7 separate regions of the Homo sapiens genome follow, and all the other regions are linked to region 5. Evidence: promoter capture Hi-C in human tissues and cell types (Jung and others, 2019). All regions are on one chromosome and are shown on one strand. Each heading gives the region's core, a stretch centred on a gene start or on the middle of the fragment in contact. The rest is flanking DNA. Distances are from core to core; before and after follow the strand shown.

Region 1 (3,724 bases), core at 80-2,579, 140 kb before region 5:
ACTTTGGGAGGCTGAGGCAGGAGGATTGCTTGAGAGCAGGGGTTCAAGACAGGCCTGGACAACGTAACAAGACTCTGTTTCTACAAAAAAAAAAAAAAAATTAAAAAAAGAAAATGCAGCATTTTGCTTTTCCTTGTCATACATTAAGGTCAGCAGTATCCTTTTCACAAAGAGGCACAGCTCAGACCCTGGGGTGTGGGGTGCTCCCTCATCGCTGCCCCCCTTTTCCCATGTACCTGGCCCCTCCATGGCACCCCTTTTATCACAACCAGGCTCAGTCCACCTCCAGATCTTGAAAAATGTCTCACCTGATCACAAACATGCCCACTACCCAGGCTGGCTTCATTCTAACTACAAACCATCCCACAGATTAAGAGAAGACAATTCTAGACCTATTTTCAAGGATATCTCAGATTCCCTTTCCTTCAAACCTCACCTCTATTTCCAAGGAAAGAATTCAGTCATATGAAAGAAAGCAGTCAGGTGTATTTTAAAGTGGCCTGACTCCAGGCGACTGAGATAAGGAACAGATACACCAAACTATGAAGCTCCCGAAAGAAGCTGCAGGAAAGGTTCTTTCACGTTTGCTGGGAGTAACAACACAAAACAGATTATGTATTTTTGGAATGTTCACTTTAAAACCATGACTCACACCTGGCCAAAATATGAAAATTTAATTTAGCCAAGTTTTCTCTTCAACTGCTGTCAATCCACATATCAGAGAAAATAACCTGCCAGTTCACCATGCGTCTCTGGAAGGAGGGAGGACTCTGCCCTACAGCGACACGTGCTTGCTCAGAGCCAAGGCCAAAGTCTTTTTGGAGACTGCTGCCGCTCCTCTCAAAAAACATGCCAGTGACTCCCAGGAGGAGGCAAGGAGTCAGGGCTGGCGAACCAGGCTCCCACTCCTTACCTGCCAACCATACACACTGGTCTCCAGCTCCTAGGAAAAGCCAGAATAGCCATCTAGAGGGTTCAGCAACAGCACTATGCCCAGAAGCACAGGACAGCCCGGCGAGACCACCAGGAACCTAACAAGAGCACAACAGCTCCCAGGATACAGAATCCTCATCCAAGGACAACCCAGCAAGACCACCAGGATCCTAACGAGCAGAACAGCTCCCAGGATACAGAATCCTCATCCAAGGACAACCAGGCAAGACCACCAGGATCCTAACGAGCAGAACAGCTCCCAGGATACAGAATCCTCACGCAAACTGTTAACACAACATGCTCAGAGCACACAACACACAGCACAGGGTGGGGGTCTCAGTCATCACCAGACCATCTGAGGATGAAGAAAATTAAAGGAGGACAAGAGGAAATAAACTTCTTTTATAGGCTATTAACAACCTATTTAATTTTTCAGCAGATTTCTTCTCACTGTGACACCAAGGATCCCATTCATTAATCCAAAAATGCTTACCTGTTACCACTCTGAATACACTCTAAGTGAAATCCAGAACAAAATTCACAACATTTCGACAAAACTCTATCAAGTCCAAGAAAACCAACCTGGACACTCACGCATTATTTTGATACTTATTTTTACAAATCAATGACAAAAACATAAATTGATAGAGAATGCAGTGAGTATTTACCGATTCCATAGCTGAAAGTCAGTGCTGACGAGGACTGTCTTTTAAATCCAATGGAGGTGTGTCCCAGAGCAGGGCTGTATATATTCTGAAACAAGAGAGTGAGATTAGCTCATGTCAATAATAATTTCAGCCTCAGTTCTTTCATCGCTCTCGTCTCCCTCCATTTGGTCCACACGGTTTATTCCATCGCCCTTCCTCTCCCATGACCCACTGCTCAGCTCCTGGTCACTGTGCCAAGGCCAAAACTTAACTTCATTCATCAAATACCTTTACGTCACAATGCAGCAATTGCAACAACTTAAAGGTAAATCCAAAGTCCAGCACAAAAAAGAGTAGATGACACTGATACAATCTTGTGAAATCACCATAAAACCAGATTTTAGAGGCTCTGGGGCTTTTTATACGTAAGAAACCAAATAACCCAAGTGGGCAATCTCGCCACAGAAACAAAACATTACCAGTAAGCTAAGTTTTTAAAAGGCCTTTTTTTTTTTTTTGGAGACAGAGTTTCACTCTTGTCCCCCAGGCTGGAGTGCAGTGGCGTGATCTCAGCTCACTGCAACCTCCACCTCCCCTCCTGGGTTCAAGCGATTCTCCTACCTCAGCCTCCCGAGTAGATGGGATTACAGGCGCTCGCCACCCACCCCCGGCTGATCTGGACCTCCTGACCTCAGGTGTTCCAATCACCTCGGCCTTCCAAAGTGTTAGGATTACAGGCGTCAGCCACCATGCCCAGCCTTAAAAGGCTAATTTTAACTTTAAGAAGCATATTAAGTTTTAAACTACATAAAAGGTGCAAAAAAAGATAAGGTGGTTTTCATTTCCACTGAGTATTTTAAGAGGAAAAGATTATACTGCAGTACCATTTTTTTAAAAAGCTGAATAAAGCCATGCATGGTGGCTCACGCCTGTAATCCCAGCACTTTGGGAGGCCGAGGTGGGCGGATCACTTGAGGTCATGAGTTCAAGACCAGCCTGGCCAACAGGGCAAAACCCCGTCTCTACTGAAAATACAAAAAATTAACCAGGTGTGGTGGCTTGTACCTGTAACCCCAACTACTTGGGAGGCTGGGGCAGGTGAATCACTTGAATCTGCGAGGCAAAGGTTGCAGTGAGCTGAGACTGCACCACTGCACTCCAGCCTGGGTGACAGAGCGAAACTCGTCTTAAAAAAAAAAAAAAAAGGCAGCTGAATAAAACTATATAATTTCCCTGAAGAGCTCTGGGGACTCCAAGAATAAAACAAACCAGTCTAAATGGGGGAAAAAAAATCTATACCCATGTTACTTCAGTCCCATCCAAACATCAGGCTCTCCTCCAACTCCAAACACTTCCGTGTGCAGAACCAGGGAAGGAAGCACAGACAGGATTGAAGGCAGCTCCCAGGACAGGGCTTGCTGGTGCAGGGTTCCCCGGCTCTGCACTTAGCATCCGAGAGAATCGCGTGTTTCCTGAGCAACACTCCTGGCACATGCGTTTTGCAAAGATGGAGTGAGGTTTTTCCTCCTTACACTCCTGGAAGATGGAGTGAGGTTTTTCCTCCTTACACTCCTGGACAGGATTGTTCAAAGCTGCCATTAACCTCAAGGACCATTAAAAATAAGTGTGTGATGGGTGCGCTGGCTCACGCCTGTAATCCCAGCACTTCAGGAGGCTGAGGCAGGCGGATTGCTTGAGCCCAGAAGTTGGAGACCAGCCTGGGCAACACGGCGAGTCCCCATCTCTACAAAAAATTCAAAAAATTAGCTGGGCATGGTGGCGTGCGCCTGTAGCCGGAGCTACTCACACCACTGCACAGCAGCCTCAATCCATCAATCAATAAAAATAAATGTGAATACGCAGCTTCTAGTCACCACACAGCCTGGTTTCAGTGAAAAGCAGCAAGTGTGCCACGAAGCTTTCCGTAAAAGAGCTCAGAGAGGGGAAGAGCATCAGCAGCAGGAAGCCAGCGAGGAACCCCAGCATCGACCTCCAGAGTCCTGAGAGCACTCAAAGCATCATGAGTCCAACGATTTGCAAGCTCACTGCCACTGGCATTTGGGTTCAGCGCGCCAACAGGGTTGAGCAGCGTCGGTCTTCTAGATGCCAGTAAGGCCACCCAGCAAATCCTGGCAACCAAAAAT
Region 2 (2,700 bases), core at 201-2,700, 240 kb after region 5:
CTCCCCCAGAGGGTCGTGCCAAGCCTGAGAGAAGAGCCCAGCACACCAGGGCCTCAAACAGTCACAACAGGGACTGAGGCCAGCTCTGTCCATGAAGATGAGGAAGGAATGGAAGGGACTAAGGTTTCCTGGGCCATCTGTGTGAGAGAACACGATGTTCTGGGGGTGAATGGGGTCACAGAGCCAGGTGGCAAGAGCACTTGAGGTCTGTTAGCCTGCCACATCCCAGCAGGCCTATACAGACCACCAAACCAAACCCAGACCCTCTCGTGAGGCTTACAACCTGCAACCAGCAAGCGGCACTTTATGCCGATTCCCCAGGTAAGAAAATCAAGGGTCCAGCCGGGCACGGTGGCTCATGCCTGTAATCCCAGCACTCTGGGAGGCTGAGGCGGGCAGATCACAAGGTCAGGAGATCAAGACTACCCTGGCTAACATGGTGAAACCCCATCTACACTAAAAATACCAAAATATTAGGCCAGGCGCATTGGCTCACACCTGTAATCCCAGCACTTTGGGAGGCCAAGGGGGGCAGATGACAAGGTCAGGAGCTCGAGACCATCCCGGCCAACCCAACGAAACCCCATCTCTACTAAAAAAATAGAAAAAATTAGCCGGGCATGGTGGTGGGCACCTGTAGTTCCAGCTACTCGGGAGACTGAGGCAGGAGAATGGTGTGAACCCAGGGAGCGGAGCTTGCAGTGAGCAGAGATCGCACCACTGCACTCCAGCATGGGCGACAGAGCGAAATTCTGTCTCAAAAAAAGAAAAATAAAAAAAATTAGCCAGGCATGGTGGCACACACCTATAGTCCCAGCTATGTGGGAGGCTGAGGCAGGAGAATCGCTTGAACCCAGGAGGCATAGGTTGTAGTAAACCGAGATCGTGCCACTGCACTCCAGCCTGGGCGACACAGTGAGACTCTGTCTCAAAAAAATAAAGAAAGAAAGAAAGAAAATCAAGGGTCCTGGCGGTTCAGTGAACTGCCCCAGGGTCACACACCCAACGAGGCCACGTCGGCTCTGTGCAAACTCAAGACACTCACACAACAGGGTGTGGGACATCGTGGAGATTCACTTCTCAGCCCTGCTGTCCTTCCTCACAGGGCAGGGCTTTGGGACACCACAGCCCCCAGTGTGCAAGGGAAGCTGGCCACCAAGACTGTTGGAGGATGTCTGATTTTAAATTATTGGCAGGCCAGGTGCGGTGGCTCACGCCTGTAATCCCAGTACTTTGGGAGGCTGAGGTGGGTGTTATCACTTGAGGTCAGGAGTTCGAGACCAGCCTGACCAATATAGTGAAACCCCATGTCTACTTAAAAATAGAAAATACAAAACTATAGGCTTGTGCCAGGTGTGGTGGTGCATGCCTGTAATCCCAGCTACTCAGGAGGCTGAGGCAGAAGAATTGATTGAACCTGGGAGGCAGAGGTTGCAGTGAGCAGAGATCTCACCACTGCACTCCAGCCTGGGCAACAAGAATAAAACTCTGTCTCAAAAATAAATAAATAAATAAATAATTGGCAACTAATTACAAAATATAAAAATCGGCAGGTCAGTGGTTGTTACCTGACTCTCAGGACATCAGTGTGAGTAATCTTATCACACAGATTATAAAAAAAAGCCCTTGCCACAGACTAAACTGTATCCCCACAAAGTTCCTCTGTTGAAGCCCAGCCTCTCAAGGTGGGGTGTTGATAAGGCTGAGGTGATGATGAGATGACTGCCCGGAGAAGACACCAGAGGGCTTGCTCTCCCCTCTCTACCTCATGAAGACACAGAAAAAGTAGGTCTCCTGCAAGCCAGGAAGAGGGTCCTCACCAGAACCCAACCCTAGGGGCACCCTGACCTCCAACTTCCAGCCTCCACTGCTGTGAGAACACATCTGCCGTCCACACCGCAGTCTCTGGCACTTTGTTACAGCAGCCCAAGCTAACTGATGCACATGTAAACATTCAGGAAATCACACAGTGCTTTATTCACTGTTTCAGTAAAAGTACCGAACGGTACAACACATTTAATTGAGCAGTTAAACAGTTACTGTGAGGGATGGGAAATGAGGAGCAAAATAAAGAATGAAAAGGTTGACAAGGCCTGGAAACAGTGGCAAATTCTACTGGTTTCTCAAGACTTCACTTCAAGGTCCCCTGCCCACACTAGAGGGAAGCAAACCCCAGAGCCCCATTTCCACCAAACCCCGATGTCCACCTTCCACCCAGCCCCCACTCCTCAGCTTCCGCCTCCCGACCTGTAAGGGTCTCCGCACATCTCCACAGAGCCATGGAGAGAAAAAGCTAATAGGGCCAAGCTTTGCCTACTGGTGAATCTGAGCAGGATCTGTGGAGGCCAGGCAGCGGGAGTCTGTAGAGGCACAGCTACAGTGTGTTCTAGAAATGTGGGGGGCTGAGAGGCAGGGCCAGCTCTAGAGCCTGAATCACACCCAGGGAAGGAGGAGCAAGGGGAGACTCCACACAGGAGGAGGTCACAGTGAGTGGGACAAACATTGGTGCAGGACTTCCAGAGGCGGAACAGGATACTGCAGTGGGCGCACCTTCCGACCTCATCCTCACAGGAAAAGGCTGACCAGAGCGTTCCCCGGGCTTTCCCATGGTCGCCTCCTCCTCACGCACGTTATCGTAACTGGCAGAGGAAGTGTGCTCAGGAGCGGGCTGCTGAAGCTCTGGAAGTGTTTAAAATATCT
Region 3 (4,121 bases), core at 340-2,839, 210 kb before region 5:
CTGCAAAGAGGAAAGGGGGAACTTTCTTGGGGTGATGGAAATACTACTCTGTATCATGACTGTGATGGTGGGAACAAGACAGTTCCAACTGATTCCTTAAAACTCTCACATCTGTAGTCATGAGCAACATGATGCTCATGTTGAGTGTGGTCAACAGGCCACATTCATGATGGTGGTATGTGCTACCATAAGATGCTAATGGAGTGGAACGGGTCCCATGGCATAAACACCTACCACTGTGTTACGATTTCTTTCCACGATTCAGCAGGGTGACTCAGCAACAGGCTCTACCATGTAGCTTAGGTGTGTGGGAGGCTCTGCCTTCTGGATCTGGGTACGCACACTCTGTGATGCTCAGAGGACAAGATCACCTAACAACGCATTTCTCAGGATGCATCCCCCGACCGCTATTAAAATTGATGCATTCCAAAGTATTTAAACTGTACCTCAAAGAAGCTCTCAGAGAGAATGCACGGGAGTGGACGATGGCGGGCACAAGAGCTCGTCAAGAGCACTGTTGTGAAGAAAAGCAGAGAGGCGGCGGCGGCAGCTGGTGGTGGGCATGGGCGAGGGGTTCCACGGCAAAGAATGAAATTGAATGCCCATCACCCCACGCCCACAGGCCGCCAAACACATCTGGAAAAGCAGAATACATTCCTGAAGGGGATGGCATCCATGGCCCTAGGGAAGGAAGACCAGATCCCAACAGGAGCAGGATGAGGCTGTCCTTGATACTGAGCAGGTGGCTGACTTCACCACACACCCTCCACTACCTCCGCAAATCACTCCAGGCATTCATTACCCACTACACCAAATAACTGATTCTCATTTCATAAATATACGTATTCAAAGAGGATCCTAGCGAACTTTTTCAAGAAAACACTGGATACAGACTCTCGGGCAGGTCTGTAAGTTAAGGCATGGAGACGAAGCTTCTCTCTGTGTTTGGCATTGAGGCAATGCTGCTGTGGGCACTGCAGACATAGGCCCTGTGACCTGGGCGCAGGTTCGTGTCATGCCACACAGCATGCAATTCCATGGACACAAAATGACCAGAACAGCAGACTCAGAGAGGACGCAGAGGCTGCAGGGGGAACAAGGAGTGACGATTAAAGGTCCAAGTTTCTTTCTGAGGTGACAGCAATGTTCTAGAACTGACAGTCCTGGTGGTTGAACAGACCCGTGAATACACTAACAACCTTTGAACTGTGCGCTTTATCTGGGTAAGCCTACGGTCTGTCAATCCTCTCAATCAAGCTGGTATTATCTCTTTTTTGGAGACAGTCTCACTCTGTCGCCCAGGATGGAGTGCAGTGGTGCGATCGTGGCTCACTGCAATCTCTGCCTCCCAGGTTCAAGCAATTCTCACGCCTCCGCTGAAATGACAGGCACAAGCCACCAGGCCCAGGTAATTTGTGTAGAGGCGGGGGTTTCAACATGTTGGTCAGATTGGTCTCAAACTCCTGACCTCAAGTGATCCGCCTGCCTCAGCCTCCCAAATGCTGGGATCACAGGCGTGAGCCATTGCACCTGGCCGATTATCTTCTTTGAAAAGCATGAGACACGTTTCCCTAGGGATGGAATGCTGGACACGAGACAAGACTTGTCCTAAGGACTGGATCTCACAGTGGCCAGGTATGCATCACGCCACGCGGTGCAGAGCCCTGGGGGAAGGCAAGTCAAGAAGCCAGGGGTCTAGGCACCGCAATGTCTCAAGGCAGCCCCCCAAGAAAACCAAGCAGAAGGCCACAGTGACGCCCTCCTGCTCTCAGGTCAGTGGCAGGAGGGCACTTGCTGATGCTGGGCACAGAGGAATGTCAGGGCAGATCTTCAAGGCTCACACCCTTCAGAGCTTCTGGCAAGCTCAACACAGTGAGCGAGCCCTGCCCCCAAGAGTGAGGCCCCTGTCAGGGCCACTTCCTCTCGCCCTGGCCCATCCAGATCTCACACACACTGTGGTAGATCTTTGAAGGGTAAAAGCTCTGTCCGCTCCACTCATCAGCACCAAAGTGTTCTGTGCCTGGCCCTTCTCCACCCAATTCACCAGTTTATTGAAGCCTCAGCTGGGTGAGTCCCGCTTGCCTCTGAAAATGTGTGTGCTCAGCCAGGCAGATTCTTGAGTGCGTTTCCTATGTGCTGCTGCCCTCCTTCAAGATGACCACATGGGCCCCCAAGCAGGGCCCCTACCTGCTTTGTCAGCATCTTGTCCTTTCCCTCTTTTCTCTCACGGCTTGTTCTACTTCACGGCATGTTTAAGCAAAGGGGGTCACTACAACAAAATTATTTTAAAACAAACATACTTCAGAAAAGTTTATGGAAAACATTAAACCTTGAATATATTAACTTTACAGGATCCATTTACTTCACCCTAACACTGAGTTAAAATTATAACAAGAGAAAGTAGGGCTGGGCGCGGTGGCTCACGCCTGTAATTAATCCCAGCACTTTGGGAGGCCAAGGCAGGTGGATCATGAGGTCAGGAGTTCAAGACCAGCCTGGCCAATATGGTGAAACCCCGTCTCTACTAAAAATACAAAAATTAGCCGTGCATGGTGGCAGACGCCTATAATCCCAGCTACTCAGGAGGCTGAGGCAGGAGAATTGCTTCAACTCAGGAGGCGGAGGTTGCAGTGAGCCAAGATGGCGCCACTGCACTCCAGCCTGGGTGACAGAGTGAGACTCCAACTCCAAAAAAAAAGAGAGAGAGAGAGAGAGAGAGAAAGTAAACAAAGTTTCTATTTATTTCTCCAGAGGATCTCAAAAGTAGAGCTGGAAATACCAGCAGTAAGAGGAACACCAGTCCAAGGCAACTACAAGGAACTGGTCACTTTTTCATTTTTTTGAGACAGAGTCTTACTGTGTCACCCAGGCTGGAGTACAGTGGTGCAATCTCGGCTCACTGCAACCTCCGCCTTCCGGGTTCAAGCAATTCTCCTGCCTCAGCCTCCCTAGTAGCTGGGATTACAGGCATGCACAACCACGCTTGCCTAATTTCTTTGTATTTTTAGTAGAGACAGGGTTTCATCATGTTGGCCAGGCTGGTTTCGAACTCCTGACCTCAGCTGATCCGCCTGCCTGGGCCTCCCAAAGTGCTGGGATTACAGGCGTGAGCCACTACGCCCGAACTGGTCACATATCTTATGGAACATAATGTTTTTCATGATCAACAGCCACTATGGGAACACAACACACATCAGCCCTGAGACACCCGAAACAAGACAGAGCAGCCTCTGCAGCCTCTCATGCAGGGAGCGTGGGGCATGTCTGCCACAGGGTGAGGGGCGGCGGGCAGAGATGGAGACATAAAGGCGGAGCTGGCTTCCAGCCTTGTGAACCAGCCCAGCTGAATGCCCCAAGTCTGTAAATAATTGATGGGAGCCAGAGCACCCAGCCCTGCAGGGCTCTCGGGAGCTGCCCGCCCAACAGTCCCATGCCTGGCACTCCCTCAGGTGCCGCCTGCAAGGTCACTCCACTGCTTCTAAATAATGCACTGCACAGATGGAGGAAAGTATACCTTTACCCATTCAAATCTTCCAAGGCACGCATTTTCACAAATTTTACATATATATAACTAAATTTTGCATTCAGCCAAAAAAAAAAAAAAAAAGAAAACTTCATGTTGAAACACTGTATCTCACCCTAGAATTTGAAAAGCCTCCTTTTCCTTCTCACTGTCAATCTTTTTTGAAGTCTCAAAAATGATTTTACTAACATTAGACAAATACCCAAATATAAAAAGTGCTTGACACAGTCAACACTGCAGCAGTGAGGTCCACTATGCCAGCGCAGTGCAGAGCCAGCCCACCTCCCTGCACCAGTGGAAATGTCACAGAGGGCAGAGGGCAGCGTGCCCAGCACCTGCTCTTGATAGGGAGGGCACTTCTAGGCTGGAATACTCAAGAGATTTGATTGTGTGTCATCAAAGCATGCTTTAAATACAAAAGCTGGCAGGGCACGGTGGCTCACTCTTGTAATCCCAGCACTTTGGGAGGCCGAGGCAGGTGAATCACCTGAAGTCAGGAGTTCAAGACCAGCCTGGCTAACACGGTGAAACCACGTCTCTACTAAAAATACAGAAATTAGCCGGGCATGGTGGCGAGCACCTGTAATCCCAGCTACTC
Region 4 (3,919 bases), core at 1,042-3,541, 180 kb before region 5:
GAACAGGTTTTGAATGCAGGTGAAACTCCCCTATTCTGGCGAAAAAAATCCTGTAAGAACATTTGTTAGTAAGAAAGAGAAGCGAGCACTGGGATAGAAGGCAAGAAGGGATAAGCTAATGCTACTGTTTTGTGCAAATGCAGTAGGGTTTATGATAAGGACTGCCTTTATCTATAAAGCTGCCTACCTCAGAACCTTGAAGGGAAAAGATAAACACCAGCTGCCAGGTATTTGGTTTTGCAACAAGGCTGGAAAGAACCCCTTTTTCCGGACTGCTTCCATTGATGCTTTGTCCGTGAAGTCAGGAAGTACCTTGCCTTGCCAGTAAGGAACTGCCTTAAATGTTCTTTTGACAATGAACAATGCCCTTGGTCCCCCAGAACCCCGTGAGTTCAACAGCAGAGGCGTCAACGTGGTCTTCCTGTCCCCAAACACAGCGTATCTAATTCAGCCTCTAGATCGGGGTCATAGGACCTGTAAGGCTCATTACACACAGCATGCTATGGAAAGGACTGTCAACATGGGAGAGAGAGAGAGAGAGCATCATGAGTGTCTGGAAGATGACACCATGAAAGATGCCATCATTGTTATAGAGAAAGCCATGAAAGCTGTCAAACCCAAAACAATGAACTCCTGCTGGAGAAAACTATGTCTGGAGGTTGTGTGTGATTCCACAGGGTTTACAACAGCCAATCAAGGAGATCATGAAGAGACTGCGGACATGTGGGCCGGGGCAGGAGGGCTGGGGGGCGGGGAGGGATGAAGGGTTTCATTTCAAAACTCAAGAGCTAAGAGATACCACACCAGAGAAATTAGAAGACAACCTGGTGGTGATGAGTGCTTCTGACCCACACCAGGTGACGAGGAGGAGGTAGCAGCAGTGACAGAAAACAAAGTGACATCAGACACTCCTGCAGAGGGGAGGGGTTCCCACGACTCCCACCCGCTTTTAACTTCTTGTACAACACACACCTGTCTGTGACATGGGCACTGAAACTAAAGCCAACAGTGAGGGAGGACTGTGACCATACAGGAACATTTCTAGAGAAATGACAAAGCACTTCGTAAGTTACACCAAATGCGCCTGCCTCTCCTGCCTCCCCTTCTACCTCTTCCACCCCCGCCCCATGAGAACAGCATGACCACCCCTCCTCCTTCTACTCAATGAAATGATGAGGATGAAGACCTTCATGATGACCCACTTCCACTTAATGAGAAGTAAACATATTTTCTCTTCCTTATGATTTTCTTAACAACACCTTCTTTTCTCTAGCTTACTTTACTGTAAGAATACAGTATACAATACATACGACATATAAAATATGAGGGGCATGGTGGCTCACACTTATAATCCCAGTGCACTGGGAGGCCGAGGCGGAAGGATCACTTGAGCCCAGCAGTTTGAGACCAGCCTGGGCAACATGGCAAGCGAGACTCTGTCTCTTTAAGAAGCGGGAAAAAAAGTGCTTTGTATATGTCAGTGTTGGATTAAAATGTGTTGACTGTTTATGTGATCAGGAAGGCACTGGTCAACAAAATTAAATACTCGGGGTATAAAAGGTTATATGTGGACTTGACTGTACCAGGGGTCAGTGCCACTAATCCCCAAGTTGTTCAAGGACCAAACATATATAATGATTTCATCAACGTGTATGTCAACCATATTGATTAGGTCAATATTGATTTGTAATTCTTGATAATAATTTCAAATCATGGCATTGAAGCCTAACCACAAAAACCTCCTCAGAAAATAGCAAAAACGTAGAGCTTTAAAGATATTAAGCTAAATGTACGTGCTATAAGGCTACAGATACAGCAGGCTGGAAATAGTCTGGCTGAGAACACACAACTGGCCAGCATGACTAGCAAGTGCTCAAGTAGCTTCTCTTGTTTGAAGACACTGGTGTACACAAAGATTTCTGCCTCCTGGGTTCAAGCAATTCTCCTGTCTCAGCCTCCCGAGTAGCTGGGATTACAGGTGTGTGCCACCATGCCTGGCTAATTTTTTGTCTGTGTATTTTAGTAGAGACGGGGTTTCATCATGTTGGCCAGGCTGGTCTCAAACTTCAGGCGCTGTGGTTTAAAACTCTTTTATCCATGTTTTAAGGGGTTGATGGGTGGGGCGAGGTGGGGAAGGGCTTTCCAAGGCTGAAAACCTCTTCAGGGGTTGGTGGGTGGGGCGAGGTGGGAAGGGCTTTCCAAGGCTGAAGACCTTTTTGGGTCAAGGTTCTGACGGCACACTGGGGAGCGTCAAGACGCCTCCTGCAGTCGTAGACAAGCCGGGCTGAGGCATTCACTGTCGCTTAGAACTGAAAACTTAGGGTCGTCCATGCCCAGAACGTCGGCAGTGCGGACCAGCCCCAGGAAGGCCTTTCTCACTGGCTTCTAGAAGGTGGGGCCGGCCCCCATGCCTGCCCCGGCACACGGCCATTCTGGGAGCTGCTGGCAGCCGGCGGGCTAGAAGGGGTGCACACCGTCTGTATGTGCGTCACAGGCTCATGCTTTTTTAATCCTATCTTGAAAACTTAGGGCTTTCTCACAAAGACCTTGTGCCAGTTCCTAAGTGGAACAACAATTTTATAAAATAATTTTAAATGGCTCAAATCAAGTGTTACCAGTGAACGGGGCTTTCATTATATGTCGAAAGCTGACCATGGGGAACAGGCCCACAGGGGCCTCCTGCTCCACACCCTGTCAGGGCATCCAAAACCAGCTCATGTAACTCTGCTTTCCAGGAGTCCAACTTGAACATTTTTTTAAAGAGACAAAGTCTTGCTCTGTCGCCCAGACAGAGCTCAGTCACGGCTCACTGCAGCCTCAACCTCCTGGGCTCAAGTGACACTTCTGCCTCAGCCTCCTGGCTCCAACTTGAGCTTACAGTTTTCTGCTCCACCACTGCTCTCTGCCTCCCACCTCCAGGTGACTGGGACGCGAGCGCCCCAAGCAGCACGGAAGAGCTCCGTGCAGTGCACGGATTTGCGAAGAACGTGTTGGTTCTTGTGATTCACAAAGAACTTGGACTGAGTACAACGGGCAAAGAAGATGTCAGCTGTATTTTTAACATTCTGTTCAGCAAGAAGAGTATACATAATAATTTCCCAAAAAATATAATTTTTGAAAATGCAGAAAAATAAAAAATTTAGAAAGAAATACATGGCTGCAGACACTGACCTTTTCAGTTTTCCAATCATCATTTCTCAAAACACACACTTTCATCTCTATTTACCAAACACTATTTTCTGCATCTCCAAACCCCTCAAGCTTCAGTCCAGGTCCAAGTATCAATGGGTATATATGAAGCTCCTCTGCCACCAGAAATTCACTATGGAAAGATGTTATTTCTGGTACCCCAGTTGCAAAACAATGATGCCTGTTTTTTTCTTTTTGAGACAGAGTCTCATTCTGTCACCCAGGCTGGAGAGCGATGGCGTGATCTCGGCTCACTTCAACACCCACTTCACAGGTTCAAGCAATTCTCCTGTCTCTGCCCCCCGAGTAGTTGGTATTACAGGCATGTGCCACGACGCCTGGCTAATTCTGTATTTTTAGTAGAGATGGGGTTTCTCCATGTTGGCCAAGCTGGTCTCAAACTCCTGACCTCAGGTGATCCACCCACCTCGGCCTCCCAAAGTGCTGGGATTACAGGTGTGAGCCACTGTGCCCAGCCCAATGATGCCATTTTAACTCCTTTTCTCCTAAGTGGATTAGAGCTCCCTGAGCCTTCAGATAGCTTCCTTGGGGCTACTCCAGAGAACGACCAGCAGTCTCCACCTGCATAAGAAACGGGACACAGGGCACGAAGAGCAGCCCCAGGACCTGCCCGCTGCCTTGGGACTTGTGAAAGCATTTTTTGTGTAATGCCAAACAGGTCTTTGTTAAAAGACAATAACCAATAGGAGACAGGCTTCTAGATCTGCAG
Region 5 (4,173 bases), core at 1,674-4,173:
AAAATCTACATTTGCATTGTCTGGCCAGCTCTAATGCAGAGGAGCTGGTGGGCTTGCCCTGGATCACAGGGTCTTGTGGTTTCAGTTTATAATTTGAGTAATGCAGGGACTAAGTGAAAAACTCCTTCTGTAGGAATCTGGGGCCTGGACCCCGTAGGGATAGAAGACGACCCAGGACACCCTGGCCCTGAGTTCCGGGGCATGCGGCTCCCACTCCGGCCCCCTTGCTTCTGCCCTCCCTGTGGTGCAGTGACGTGAGTGGATTGTCCTCTTGTTGCTGCAACACTGAAACGCTGGCGGAGCAGTAAGGAGGCAGCCACAGGTGCAGTCACACACCCGAGGGTGGCATCTCTGAGAGATGCCTTGACCTTTGCCCCAGTTCTCCAAATCCAAAGACCAGCACATCGATGGGAGGGTTTTAGCTGGTGTAGCCAAGGGTAGTGTCCTCGGTAATTGTTTTTTTTTTGCTGTTGTGTTGGTTTTTGGCAGAGTCTTGCTCTGTCGCCCAGGCTAGAGTGCAGTGGCGCCATCTCGGCTCACTGCAGCCTCGATCTTCTGGGCTCAAGCAATCCTCCTGACTCAGCCTCCCAAGTAGCTGGGACCGCAGGCACGCACCATTATGCCCGACTAATTTTTGTACTTTTTGTAGAGACAGGGCTAGACTCGAATTTCTGAGTTCAAGTGATCCTCCTGCCTTGGCCTCCCAATGTGTTGGGATTACAGGTGTGAGCCACTGTGCCAAGCCTTTTGTGAAATTAATTTATTATTTTTTAATTATTATTTGTTTTTGGAGATGGAATCTTGCTCTGTAGTCCAGGCTGGAGTGCAGTGGCACGATCTTGGGTCAGTGCAACCTCCGCCTCCCGGGTTCACGCCATTCTCCTGCCTCAGCCTCCCAAGTAGGTGGGACCACAGGCGCCTGCCACCACGCCCGGCTAATTTTTTGTATTTTTAGTAGAGTCGGGGTTTCACCATGTTAGCCAGGATGGTCTCGATCTCCTGACCTCGTGATCTGCCTGCCTTGGGCTCCCAAAATGCTGGGATTACAGGTGTGAGCCAGCACGCCCAGCTCTTAAATTTTTCATTTTTGAGACGGAGGCTTAACTCTGTCACCCAGGCTGGAGTGCAGTGGTGCAGTCTCGACTCACTGTAACCTCTGCCTCCTGGGTTCAAGTGATTCCCCTGTCCTACTCTCTGGAGTAGCTAGGATTACAGGTGTACACAACCACACATGGCTAATTTTTGTATTTTTAGTAGAGGCGGGATTTTGCCATGTTGGCTAGGCCGGTCTCCAACTCCTGACCTCAGGTGATCCACCCGCCTCGGCCTCCCAAAGTGCTGGGATTTACAGGCATGAGCCACCGTGCCTGGCCTGTGAAATACTTTTTTTTCTTTTTGAGACTGAGTCTTGCTCTGTTGCCCAGGCTAGAGTGCAGTAATGTGATCTTGGCTCACTGCAACCTCTGCCTCCCCAGTTCAAGCAATTCTGGTGACTCAGCCTCCTAAGTAGCTAGGATTACAGGCATGCGCCACCACGCCCAGCTTTTTTGTATTTTTAGTAGAGACAGGGTTTCACCATCTTAGCCAGGGTGATCTCAAACTCTTGACCTCGGCTGATCCGCCCACCTCAGCCTCCCAAAGTGCTGGAACTGTGAAATTCTTAAAATGTGGATTACGTTGGCCAGGCACGGTGGCTCACGCCTGTAATCCCAGCACTTTGGGAGGCCCAGGCGGGCGGATCGCGAGGTCAGGAGATCGAGACCATCCTGGCTAACACAGTGAAACCCCGTCTGTACTAAAAATACAAAAAATCAGCTGGGCGTGATGGTGGGCGCCTGTAGTCCCAGCTACTTGGGAGGCAGAGGCAGGAGAATGGCGTGAACCCGGGAGGCAGAACTTGCAGTGAACAGAGATCGCACCACTGAACTCCAGCCTGGGCAACAGAGGGAGACTCCGTCTCAAAAAAAAAAAATAATAATAAGTTTTACCAGGAGGAAGCGTGGTGATTGGGTGAGGGTAGGGAAGAAAGAGGGTTATTGGGATTTAAAGGTTTCCAGGTAGCAGTAAGATGGATGGTGCCTTCACAGACTTATACTAGAGAAGAGATGGCTTTTTGTTGATGCTTTTCTTTGTGAAGGAAGGCAGTAGGCACAGCAGGTCAGAGTGTGACATTTTCAGTCGGGTACCCCTGACCTTAGAGAAGTCACCTAATCCTGGGCCAAGGGAAAGCGACAGAGGCCAACAGTAACTCCGTCTACTAAAATACCAAAAATTAGCAGGGTGTGGCGGCGGGCGCCTGTAATCCCAGCTACTCGGGAGGCTGAGGCAGAATTGCTTGAACCTGGGACGCGGAGGCTGCAGTGAGCCGAGATCGCGCCATTGCACTCCAGCCTGGGCGACGGAGCGAGACTCCGTCTCCAAAAAAAAAAAACAAAAAAAAAAACCACAAATGTTCTAAATGGATGGGAGGAGAATAAACGCTGGAACGACAAGGACGAAGGCCTTAGGTTGCGCAAACTCGGATGTCACTGAAGTTTTTCTGCCTTTGCGCTGCAAACGTGTCTCACAAATGTGAACAAACAGAATTCCTCGGGCGTCGCCCGTTCGCCGTCGGCCCAGATACCGGACTCGCGCGCGTTAGCCCGCAAGACAGGACTCGGCCGCGGCCCGCGCAGCGGCTGAAGCGCCGGGGCAGTAACGGCGGACGTCAAGCAAGTCCGGCCGTCGGTTACTCAGGGCCCAGGAATCACGGCCGCCCCGCCGCATTCTCAGCGGCAACATGTCTGCGACGGCGGCCCTAGGGCTGCCGGGAGAGCCGCGGCGACGTCAGTTCCTCCTTTCGGGGCTCTGATTGGTCAGAGCGCCCGGCGCTTCTGGTTGGCCGGCCCTGCTATCATCCCAGAGTGCATTGCGGGGCCGCTTCCTTTCCGCTCGGCTGTTTTCCTGCGCAGGAGGTGAGGGAGACTGGGTCCTGGCCTTTGGGCATCATCCAGCGCCATCGGCCTGGCGCTTCAGCCAACGCGGGAGTGGATGGGCCCCTTCTTCTTCGCAGACAGCGTTCGGCCGCTGCCCGGGCTCTAGGCGCGGCCGGACGGCCCAGTCTGGAGGGTTCGGGGCGGAGGCCCGGGGGGGTGCGCGCGCCCGGGGTCCGGCCTCTCACTCGCTCCCCTCTCGTCCGCAGCCGCAGGGCCGTAGGCAGCCATGGCGCCCAGCCGGAATGGCATGGTCTTGAAGCCCCACTTCCACAAGGACTGGCAGCGGCGCGTGGCCACGTGGTTCAACCAGCCGGCCCGTAAGATCCGCAGGTGAGCCCTGCGCTCGGGGCTGCCCCTGGGGCTCGTGCCCGCGGCTGCGCCTTGGCTTGCGGGTGGCCGATGCCAGGGCGGGGGGCGCTGTCTGCAACCGTCGCGGAGCGCTGGCCTGGCGGCCTTAGGCAAGGGTGACCGCCGCTGCGCTTCTCTCCACCAGACGTAAGGCCCGGCAAGCCAAGGCGCGCCGCATCGCCCCGCGCCCCGCGTCGGGTCCCATCCGGCCCATCGTGCGCTGCCCCACGGTTCGGTACCACACGAAGGTGCGCGCCGGCCGCGGCTTCAGCCTGGAGGAGCTCAGGGTGAGTACTGGCAGCGCTGCGGTGTCAGGAAGGCCCCGAAGTCCCCTCTGTTGGCCTCAGTCGCGTGATGACATTCTCCGGAATCGCTGTACGGCCTTGATGAAAGCACATTTGAACCCTTTTCCATCTGATTGCTGAGGCTTTTCATCCAGGCCTCGGGGCTGGAGAAAGCCCGGGCCTGTCTCCATCTCTCTCTGGTTCTGGGGCAGGTGGCCGGCATTCACAAGAAGGTGGCCCGGACCATCGGCATTTCTGTGGATCCGAGGAGGCGGAACAAGTCCACGGAGTCCCTGCAGGCCAACGTGCAGCGGCTGAAGGAGTACCGCTCCAAACTCATCCTCTTCCCCAGGAAGCCCTCGGCCCCCAAGAAGGGAGACAGTTCTGTGAGTACACGGCTCTCTGGCCGTCCTGGTGCGCGGGGACAGTGAGGCTTGGCTCCTTTATCAGTGACACCGGTCCCTGGGTCTTGCTGGGGTGAGAAGAACCAAAACATTGTGGGTGATGAGCTAAGCGGGACTGCTAAGGTTCACCTGTGCGTTTCCGCAGAGATAACCTTAATGGAC
Region 6 (4,193 bases), core at 1,694-4,193, 190 kb after region 5:
CAGTCTTGGCTTATGGCAGCCTTGACTCTCGAGCTCAGCTGATTCTCCTAAGTCAGCTTCCTGAGTAGCTGGGACTATAGGTACACACCACCATGCTTGACTAGTGTTTTGTATTTTTAGTAGAGATGGGGTTTCACCATGTTGGCCAAACTGGTCTTGAGCCCCTGACCTCAAGTGATCTAGCCACCTCAGCCTCCCAAAGTGCTGGGATTACAGGCATAAGCCACCGTGCCTGGCCGGCTGTATTTTTTAAAGAAGAATAAAGATCAGGTGCAGTGGCTCACGCCTGTAATCCAACAATTTTGGAGACCGAGATGGGTGGTTCACTTGGGCCCAGGAGTTCGAGACAAGCCTGGGCAACATGGCAAAACTCCGTCTCTACAAAAAATCAGCTGGGTGTGGTGGCGCACACAGGTGCACGCTGTCAGGATTGCTTGAGCCCAGGAAGTCAAGGCTGCAGAGAGATATGATCGCACCACTGTACTCTAGCCTGGGTGACAGAGCAAGACCCTGTCCCAATAATAATAATAATTATGATTACAATTAAGAGGAAAAAGCAGATGGTCTCACTGAGAAGGAGCCAGGTGGGTCTAGGGAAAGCATCTGGCTAAGGAGTTGGGAGGCCCCAGAGCTGGCGGAGGGAGAGACAGGGGCCTGGCACAGAAGACGCACGGGTGGCCAGCACCAGTAAATGCCTGTTGACTGACAGTGAACCCACACAGGTACATGCTGCCTACCTGTATAGACTTCAGGTGATCCACCAGCCTCGGACTCCCAAAGTACTGGGATTACAAGCCTGAGCCAACAATAAATATCTTTTTTTTTTTTTTGAGACGGAGTCTCACTCTGTCGCCCGCCCAGGCTGGAGTGCAGTGGCACAATCTCGGCTCACTGCAAGCTCCGCCTCCTGGGTTCATGCCATTCTCCTGCCTCAGCCTCCCGAGTAGGTGGGGCTACAGGTGCCCGCCACCACGCCCGGCTAAATTTTTGTATTTTTAGTAGAGACGGGGTCTCATCGTGTTAGCCAGCATGGTCTCGATCTCCTGACTGTGTGATCCGCCTGCCTCGGCCTCCCAAAGTTCTGGGATTACAGGCGTGAGCCACCGCGCCTGGCAATAAATATCTTAATAGCACGCGGCTTAAATGAAGTGAATGCACTGAGTTGTGGCACCCTCAAACTCACCTGCAATCTGGAAATAATATCCTCATTTCCTGTGCGGCCACCAAAGACCAAATCAGAATTTTCTGAGTGGTCATAACTCCTTGAGCTGAAATGAAAATACAATAAAATCCTCCTCAGTATCGCCTAATAGTGCTGAAGTTCCCAGTTCTCCTCCTGCCTCCGGAGCTGAGTGATGGCTGTGCTTCTCTGACAGTGTGACCCTCACATTAGTCAACAATAAACAACAAAAACTGCCACAAAATACTACCAACCCCAACCTAGGAAATACAAAAATTATGTACCATGACCAAGGAGGCTTATCCCAAGAATGCAAGGATGTGGGTGGCAAGCCACCCAGGCACCAAGGCAAGAGACAGAGGACACGAGCTGTTCCAGTATAATAAAATATAAAACAAGAATAGTTATACCAGATATAGATCTTAGATATGATTACATATGAATATCATTAATCATTAGTTGGTAGCAATTACTTTTTATTCCAATATTATGATAATCCTCACTCAATAATCATAGCCTAGGAAAAACCAGGCCATACAGAGATAGGAGCTGAGGGGATATACTGAGGTGTGACCAGAAGACAAGAGTGCGAGCCTTCTGTTGTGCCCGGACAGGGCCACCAGAGGGCTCCTTGGTCTAGCGGTGATGCCAGCGTCTGGGAAGACGCCCGTCACCAAGCGGATCGTGGTCCAGCGGTAGCAAAAGGTGTCAAGGAACAACACCCACTACTTAGCAGACCGGGAAAGGGAGTCTCCCTTTCCCCCGGGGAGTTTAGAGAAGACTCTGCTCCTCCACCTCTTGTGGAGGGCCTGACATCAGTCAGACTCGCCCGCAGTTATCCGGAGGCCTCACCGTCTCCCTGTGATGCTGTGCTTCAGTGGTCATGCTCCTAGTCCACCTTCATGTTCCATCCTGTACACCTGGCTCTGCCTTCCAGATAGCAGTAGCAAATTAGTGAAAATACTAATAGTCCCTGATATGCAGAAATAATGGCGTAAGCTGTCTTTCTCTCTGTCTCCTCTCCCTCTCTGCCTCAGCTGCCAGGCAGGGACGGGCCCCCTGTCCAGTGGACATGTGACCCACGTGACCTTACCTATCATTGGAGGTGACTCACATTGTTTACCCTGCCCCTTCTGCCTTGTATCCAATAAGTAACAGCGCAGCCCGACACTCGGGGCCACTACCGGTCTCCGCGCATTGGTGGTAGTGGTCCCCCGGGCCCAGCTGCCTTTTCTCTTATCTCTGTCTTGTGTCTTTATTTCTACACTCTCTCATCGCCGCACACAGGGAGAGACCCACCGACCCTCCGGGGCTGGTCCCTACACAAGGATAGCTTAAGATCCCCAAACCAATATAACGCAGTTATCAATAAAATAAAAAGCAAAAACCGTAAGATTATCTCAATAGATGTAGAAAAAGCACTTGACGAAATGTGACATCCTTTTGTGATAAAAACACTCAATCAACCAGGAACAAAGGAAATCTTCTCAATCTAGTGCCTGGCATGGATGAAAACCCACAGCAAACGTCAGATTTAATGAGGAAAGACTGAAAGCTGTTCTCCTAAGATCAGGGGCAACAAGGATGTCCTCTCTACACTCAGAACAGTGTCGCTGCCTCTACTCAACACTGCACTGGGGACAGACACGGTGGCTCACGCCTGTAATCCCAGCACTTTGGGAGGCCGAGGCAGGCAGATCATCTGAGGTCAGGAGATCGAGACCATCCTGGCCAATGTGGCGAAACCCTATCTCTACTAAAAATACAAAAATTAGACGGGCGTGTTAGCGGACGCCAGTAATCCCACCTATTGGGAGGCTGAGGCAGCAGAATTGCCTGAACCTGGAAGGCGGAGGTTGCAGACAGCTGAGATAGTGCCACTGTACTCCAGCCTGGGACACACAGCGACACTCTGTCTCAAAAACAAACAAACAAAAATTAGCTGGGCATGGTGGCGGGTGCCTGTAATCCCAGCTACTCGGGAGGCTGAGGCAGGAGAATCGCTTGAACCTGAGAGGCGAAGGTTTCGGTAAGCCGAGATTGCACCACTGCACTCCAGCCTGGGTGACAGAGCGAGACTCCGTCTCAGAAAAAAAAAAACAAAACAAAACAACAACAAAAAAAACAACACTGCCCGGGGAGTTCAAGCCGGGGCAATTCAACAAGAAAAAGAAAAAGCATCCAGATAGGAAAGGAAAAAGTGAAACTATCTCTCTTCACATATTATATGATCTTTCTTTTGTTTTTTTGTTTTGAGACTGAGTTTCACTCTTGTCGCCCAGGCTGGAGTTGCAGTGGCATGATCTCAACTCACTGCAACCTCTGCCTCCTGAGTTCAAGTGATTCTTCTGCCTCAGCCTCCCAAGTAACGGATTACAGGAGCCCACCACGATGCCCGGCTAATTTTTGTATTTTTAGTAGAGATGGGGTTTCACCATGTTGGCCAGGCTGGTCTCCAACTCCTGACCTCATGATCCGCCCACTTCACCCTCCCAAAGTGCTGGGATTACAGGCATGAGCCACCATGCCTGGCCAGACACGATCTTATATATACAAAGCCCTAAGGAATCGATACAAAAACACTCTTAGAACTAATAAATGACTAGAGCCAATGAATATACAAGAATCACTGGTGTTTCTATACGTTAGCAACAAATGATTCAAAAGGAAAGAAGACTCGCTATCACTGAGATGGCAATACTGCCCCACATGCAGTCCGTATCAGGGTCCCAGCTACTTTTGTCGAAACTGACAAGCTCATCCCAAAATTAAGACACAACTACAAAGCACCTAGAAAAGCCAAACCATCCTGAAAAAGAAGAACCAAGTTGGAGGCCTCACACTTCCCAATTTTAAAACCTACTACAAAGCTTCATCCCAATGACGCAGTGCATATGGACATACAGACCAAGGGAACACAATGAGAGCCAGAAACAAACCCTCACACGAGCAGCCATCTAACTTTTGACAAGGGTGCCAAGACCATTCAGTGGGGAAAGAAGTGTTTTCAACA
Region 7 (4,006 bases), core at 313-2,812, 170 kb after region 5:
GACCTGAAGCAGTCCTAGCCAGTGCCATCCTTGGGGGTAGATGTGAGGCCAGACTTTCACTTGAGACACCCCCCGGGGGGTCTAGAAGTTTCTTGGAGTGAAGCTGTGAAGGAGCCAGTGGTGTCGCTGGAGGAGGAGTTGGATCTGCCTTCCAGGGGCCTCAGCTGTCACCTACTGAGGGCTCGTGCCATGTGGCCCGGGTGCGGCTCTGAGGGTCTCTCACCGAGTCTCTCCTTCAGAAGCACATCAAGGAGCACCACGAGGAGGTCCGGGAGCGGCCCTGCCCCCACCCTGGCTGCAACAAGGTTTTCATGATCGACCGCTACCTGCAGCGCCACGTGAAGCTCATCCACACAGGTACGCCTATCGCCAGTGTCGCCCACGCGGGTGACAGCCAGGGGCACGTGACCTGCTTTCCAGTCTTCCTCATACCCATCCCCGCCCCAAGAGTTGGGGGTGCGTGAAGGTGGCTCATGGGGTCTTTGGTACTCAGTCACGTTGGTAGATGAAGGCTAGAGTAGGGCGTCAGTGTGAATCTGCCCTTCCCTGTGATGGAAGGAATTCCTGACTTCCCCAGGATCTAGGCAGTTTGTCAAAACTAATAGCCAAGCAATCTTGGTGTCCTTTTGCAAATTGGTCATTTTATTTTTTAATTTTTTTTTGAGACGGAGTCCTGCTCTGTTGCCCAGGCTGGAGTGCAGTGGCACCATCTTGGCTCACCACAACCTCTGCCTCCCAGGTTCAATCAATTCTCCCGCCTCAGCCTCCCAAGTAGCTGGGATTACAGGCACCCGCAACCATGCCTGGCTAATTTTTGTAATTTTTGGTAGAGACGGGGTTTCACCATGTTGGCCAGGGTGATCTCTAACTCCTGACCTCAAGTGATCTCAGCCTTCCAAAGTGCAGAGATTACAGGTGTGAGCACTGCACCTGGCCCAAACAAGTGTATCTTAAAAGGCAAGGCAGAAGGCATGAAGGCACACCAGCTCTGGGGAGCTGCCCACGTGGACAGGCGGGAGGCACGTGTGGTTCTGCCTTTTCACATGTGTGTAGGTCGTGTCATTAAGACCGGAGGCGGATGGGGGAATTATGACTGAGGGTGCTGTCTCTGTGCCCGTCTTATTTTTCACAATTTCTATAATGCACAAGTTACTTTTATAATCCAACAAGGATATGTTTTCAAAATGACAAACTTGGCCGGGCGTGGTGGCTCACACCTGTAATCCCAGCACTTTGGGAGGCTGAGGTGGGTGGATCACCTGAGGTCAGCAGTTCAAGACCAGCCTGGCCAACATGGTAAAACCTGGTCTCTACTAAAAATACAAAAATTATCTGGGTGTGGTGGCACACGCCTGTAGGCACAGCTACTTGGGAGGCGGAGGTGGAGGTTGCAGTGAGCCGAGATCACACCACTGCACTCCAGCCTGGGCAACAGTGAGACACTGTCTCAAAAAAAAAACTTGTTTGAACCACGTGGACCCACATATCCATGGTCAGGGACTCGAATCCCTGGTATTCAGAGGGCTGCCTTTTCCTAAGTGCAGGTTCTGTAGGGTCTTTGCAGGGCTAACTTCGGGACTTCAGTATGAGCAGATTTTGGTAAGGGGTGGGGGGGGGCCTGGAACCAGCTGAGGACAACTGTATATTGATCCTTACACACACAGTTTTCCTTGGTTTTGAACTTATTACAGAATAAGAATTATTTATTCTTACTTGAATTTACTGAAGTATTTTTTCATTAGGATTGCTTTTCACTGCTGGGTCATCTCCCGACATGCGGGTTGTTATTTTTTGGGTTCTCCGACATCTCTCCTGATGGCAGCACTTCCTTGGGTTTGGTCCTTCAGACTCTGCATCTGTCCGGTCACTGATGGTCACAACCAGCAGTTCCTTAAAAACCTGAAATTGGGCCGGGTGCAGTGGCTCATGCCTGTAATCGCAGCACTTTGGAGGCTAAGGCAGTAGGATTGCTTGAGGCCAGGATTTTGACACCAGCCTGGGCAACATAGTGAGGCCGTCTTTACCAAAAACTTTTTTTTTAATTTATTGATGGAAACAGTCTCACTCTTATCACCATGGCTGGAGTGCAGTGGCGCGATCTTGGCTCACTGTAACCTCCACCTCCCTAGTTCAAGCAATTCTCCTGTCTCAGCCTCCTGAGTAGCTGGGATTACAGGCATCTGCCACCACGCCGGGGGTGTTTTTTTTTGTTTGTTTGTTTGTTTTTTTGACTGAGTCTTGCTCTTGTCGCCCAGGCTGGGGTGCAGTGGCACAATCTCAGCTCACTGCAAGCTCCTCTTCCTGGGGTAAAGCCATTCTCCTGCCTCAGCCTCCCAAATAGCTGGGACTACAGGTGCTGGCCACCACACCCAACTAATTTTTCGTATTTTCAGTACAGACGGGGTTTCACCACGTTAGTGAGGCTGGTCTCAATCTCCTGACCTTGTGATCCACCTGCCTCGGCCTCCCGAAGTGCTGGGATTATAAGCGTGAGCCATGACGCCTGGGTAATTTTTCTATTTTTAGTAGAGAGGCAGGTTTTGCTATGTTGGCCAGGCTGGTCTCGAGTTCCTGACCTCAGGTGATTTGCCTGCCTTGGCCTCCCAAAGTGCTGGGATTACAGGCATGAGCCACCGTGCCCAGCCCCCAATTTTTTTTTTTTTTTCCGGGACAGTCTGTGTCGCCCAGCCTGGAGTGCAGCTGTGCAATCTCAGCTCACTGCAACCTCCACCTCCTGGGTTCATGCAATTCTGCTGCCTCAGCCTCCCGAGTAGCTGGGACTACAGGTGTGTGCCACCACACCTGGCTAATTTTTGTATTTTTAGTAGAGACAGGGTTTTACCATATTGATTGGGCTGGGGCTGGTCTTGAACTGACTTCATGATCCGCCTGCCTTGGCCTTCCAAAGTGCTGGGATTGAGCACTTTGTGTAAGCCACTGCACCGGCCCCCCAAATTTTTTAAATTACCTGGGTGTGGTGGTGCACACCTGTGGTCCCAGCTACTTGAGAGGTTGAGGCAGGAGGATCACTTAAGCCTGGGAGTTCCAGGCTATAGTGAGCCATGATTGTACCATTGCACTTCAACCTGGGCAACAGAGCAAGACCCTGTCTCCAAAAAAAAAAAAAAAAAAAGAATCCCTTGAACCTGGGAGGTGGAGTTTCCAGTGAGCTGAGATTGGGCTGTTGCACTCCAGCCTGGGCAACAGAGCAAGACTCAAGTCTCAAAAAAAAAGAACAGCGTAGAGTAAAATGCCAAGATAGGGTTTCCCTTCGAAGAGAAAAGTCTGTCTTGTGAAGCGTTTCAGGGCTTGACAGATGTGGAGGCAGCACAGGGTGAGTGGGTCTGCATGTCCACATGTGGCATTTGTGGACTAGCAAGTGAGATCTCTTTGTTCAAGGGTGTGAGAAAGATTTCCAGAGCCAGTACAGCAATGCATACCCCCAGACCCTGGGTATGGACCCCTCTCATATGGAGATGAATTCTAGAGAACAGCCATAGCTGTGACAATCAGTATTCTATACAACCTTAGTGATACGGCTTCCTTTAAGAATTTGTAGGCCAGGCACGGTGGCTCACACATGTAATCCCAGCACTTTGGGAGACCGAGGCAGGCAGATCACAAGGTCAGGAATTCAAGACCAGCCTGGCCAATATGGTGTAAACCCTGTCTCTACTAAAAATACAAAAATCAGCTGGGCGTGGTGGGGGGCGCCTGTAATCCCAGCTACTTGGCAGGCTGAGGCACAAGAATCGCTTGAGCCTGGGAGGCGCAGGTTGCAGTGAGCTGAGATCACGCCACCGCACTGCAGCCTGGGTAACAGAGCGAAACTCCATCTCAAAAAAAAAAAAAGACAAGAATCTGTGGTTAAGGAAATAGCTTTCTGAGGTTTCTTTAAAAACCATCCTGAAATGCACACAGCTGATGAAGCCACGTGACAGTGTATAAAGCAGTTTAAAGATCTTAATAAACGAGGCCCTCATAGGCCCCTTGCTTGGGCCCACTG

What was found. The method cuts DNA at HindIII sites, captures the fragments that hold promoters and counts their contacts. A contact is called where the count stands out against the background at its distance.
Region 1: a contact is called between a fragment that was not itself captured here and the fragment with the promoter of RPL13 in region 5, in 4 of the 25 tissues and cell types used here (aorta, hippocampus, liver and 1 more).
Region 2: a contact is called between a fragment that was not itself captured here and the fragment with the promoter of RPL13 in region 5, in 3 of the 25 tissues and cell types used here (H1 embryonic stem cells, IMR-90 fibroblasts and ovary).
Region 3: a contact is called between a fragment that was not itself captured here and the fragment with the promoter of RPL13 in region 5, in 8 of the 25 tissues and cell types used here (IMR-90 fibroblasts, bladder, dorsolateral prefrontal cortex and 5 more).
Region 4: a contact is called between a fragment that was not itself captured here and the fragment with the promoter of RPL13 in region 5, in 4 of the 25 tissues and cell types used here (H1 embryonic stem cells, dorsolateral prefrontal cortex, heart right ventricle and 1 more).
Region 6: a fragment that was not itself captured here is called in contact with the fragment with the promoter of RPL13 in region 5 in 2 of the 25 tissues and cell types used here (heart left ventricle and pancreas).
Region 7: a fragment that was not itself captured here is called in contact with the fragment with the promoter of RPL13 in region 5 in 2 of the 25 tissues and cell types used here (heart right atrium and lymphoblastoid cells).

What each region holds. Positions count from the first base shown.
Region 1 is chr16:89,416,683-89,420,406 of GRCh38, forward strand. It overlaps ANKRD11 (ankyrin repeat domain containing 11), which reads right to left. Exons shown (of 13, transcript NM_013275.6): 2 at 1,602-1,686. It overlaps LOC128462377, which reads right to left and starts at 1,610. Exons shown (of 2, transcript NM_001416403.1): 1 at 1,602-1,610. The coding sequence starts at 1,610. RefSeq lists enhancers at 2,891-3,392, 3,393-3,724. The HindIII fragment of the contact is 5,031 bases long and covers 1-3,724 here.
Region 2 is chr16:89,796,401-89,799,100 of GRCh38, forward strand. All of the region lies in intron 10 of FANCA (FA complementation group A), which reads right to left. Among named protein-coding and RNA genes, the nearest start is that of FANCA, 19 kb to the right of the region's middle. The HindIII fragment of the contact is 7,196 bases long and covers 1-2,700 here.
Region 3 is chr16:89,350,654-89,354,774 of GRCh38, forward strand. The region is part of intron 2 of ANKRD11 (ankyrin repeat domain containing 11); the gene reads right to left. All of the region lies in intron 1 of LOC128462377, which reads right to left. Among named protein-coding and RNA genes, the nearest start is that of ZNF778, 140 kb to the left of the region's middle. The HindIII fragment of the contact is 8,829 bases long and covers 1-4,121 here.
Region 4 is chr16:89,376,745-89,380,663 of GRCh38, forward strand. All of the region lies in intron 2 of ANKRD11 (ankyrin repeat domain containing 11), which reads right to left. The region is part of intron 1 of LOC128462377; the gene reads right to left. Among named protein-coding and RNA genes, the nearest start is that of ANKRD11, 110 kb to the right of the region's middle. The HindIII fragment of the contact is 8,223 bases long and covers 1-3,919 here.
Region 5 is chr16:89,557,759-89,561,931 of GRCh38, forward strand. RPL13 (ribosomal protein L13) reads left to right here and starts at 2,924. Exons shown (of 6, transcript NM_000977.4): 1 at 2,924-2,954; 2 at 3,182-3,305; 3 at 3,469-3,610; 4 at 3,820-3,993. The coding sequence starts at 3,202. It overlaps SNORD68 (small nucleolar RNA, C/D box 68), which reads left to right and starts at 3,672; the gene lies at 3,672-3,743. It overlaps SPG7 (SPG7 matrix AAA peptidase subunit, paraplegin), which reads left to right. Exons shown (of 17, transcript NM_003119.4): 17 at 1-8. RefSeq lists silencers at 1,366-1,585, 3,127-3,396, 3,457-3,506 and an enhancer at 2,907-3,016. The HindIII fragment of the contact is 11,945 bases long and covers 1-4,173 here.
Region 6 is chr16:89,750,955-89,755,147 of GRCh38, forward strand. It overlaps FANCA (FA complementation group A), which reads right to left. Exons shown (of 43, transcript NM_000135.4): 31 at 1,184-1,268. Among named protein-coding and RNA genes, the nearest start is that of ZNF276, 32 kb to the left of the region's middle. The HindIII fragment of the contact is 5,421 bases long and covers 234-4,193 here.
Region 7 is chr16:89,733,682-89,737,687 of GRCh38, forward strand. It overlaps ZNF276 (zinc finger protein 276), which reads left to right. Exons shown (of 11, transcript NM_001113525.2): 9 at 240-357. It overlaps FANCA (FA complementation group A), which reads right to left. Exons shown (of 43, transcript NM_000135.4): 43 at 3,868-4,006. Among named protein-coding and RNA genes, the nearest start is that of ZNF276, 14 kb to the left of the region's middle. The HindIII fragment of the contact is 4,696 bases long and covers 1-3,910 here.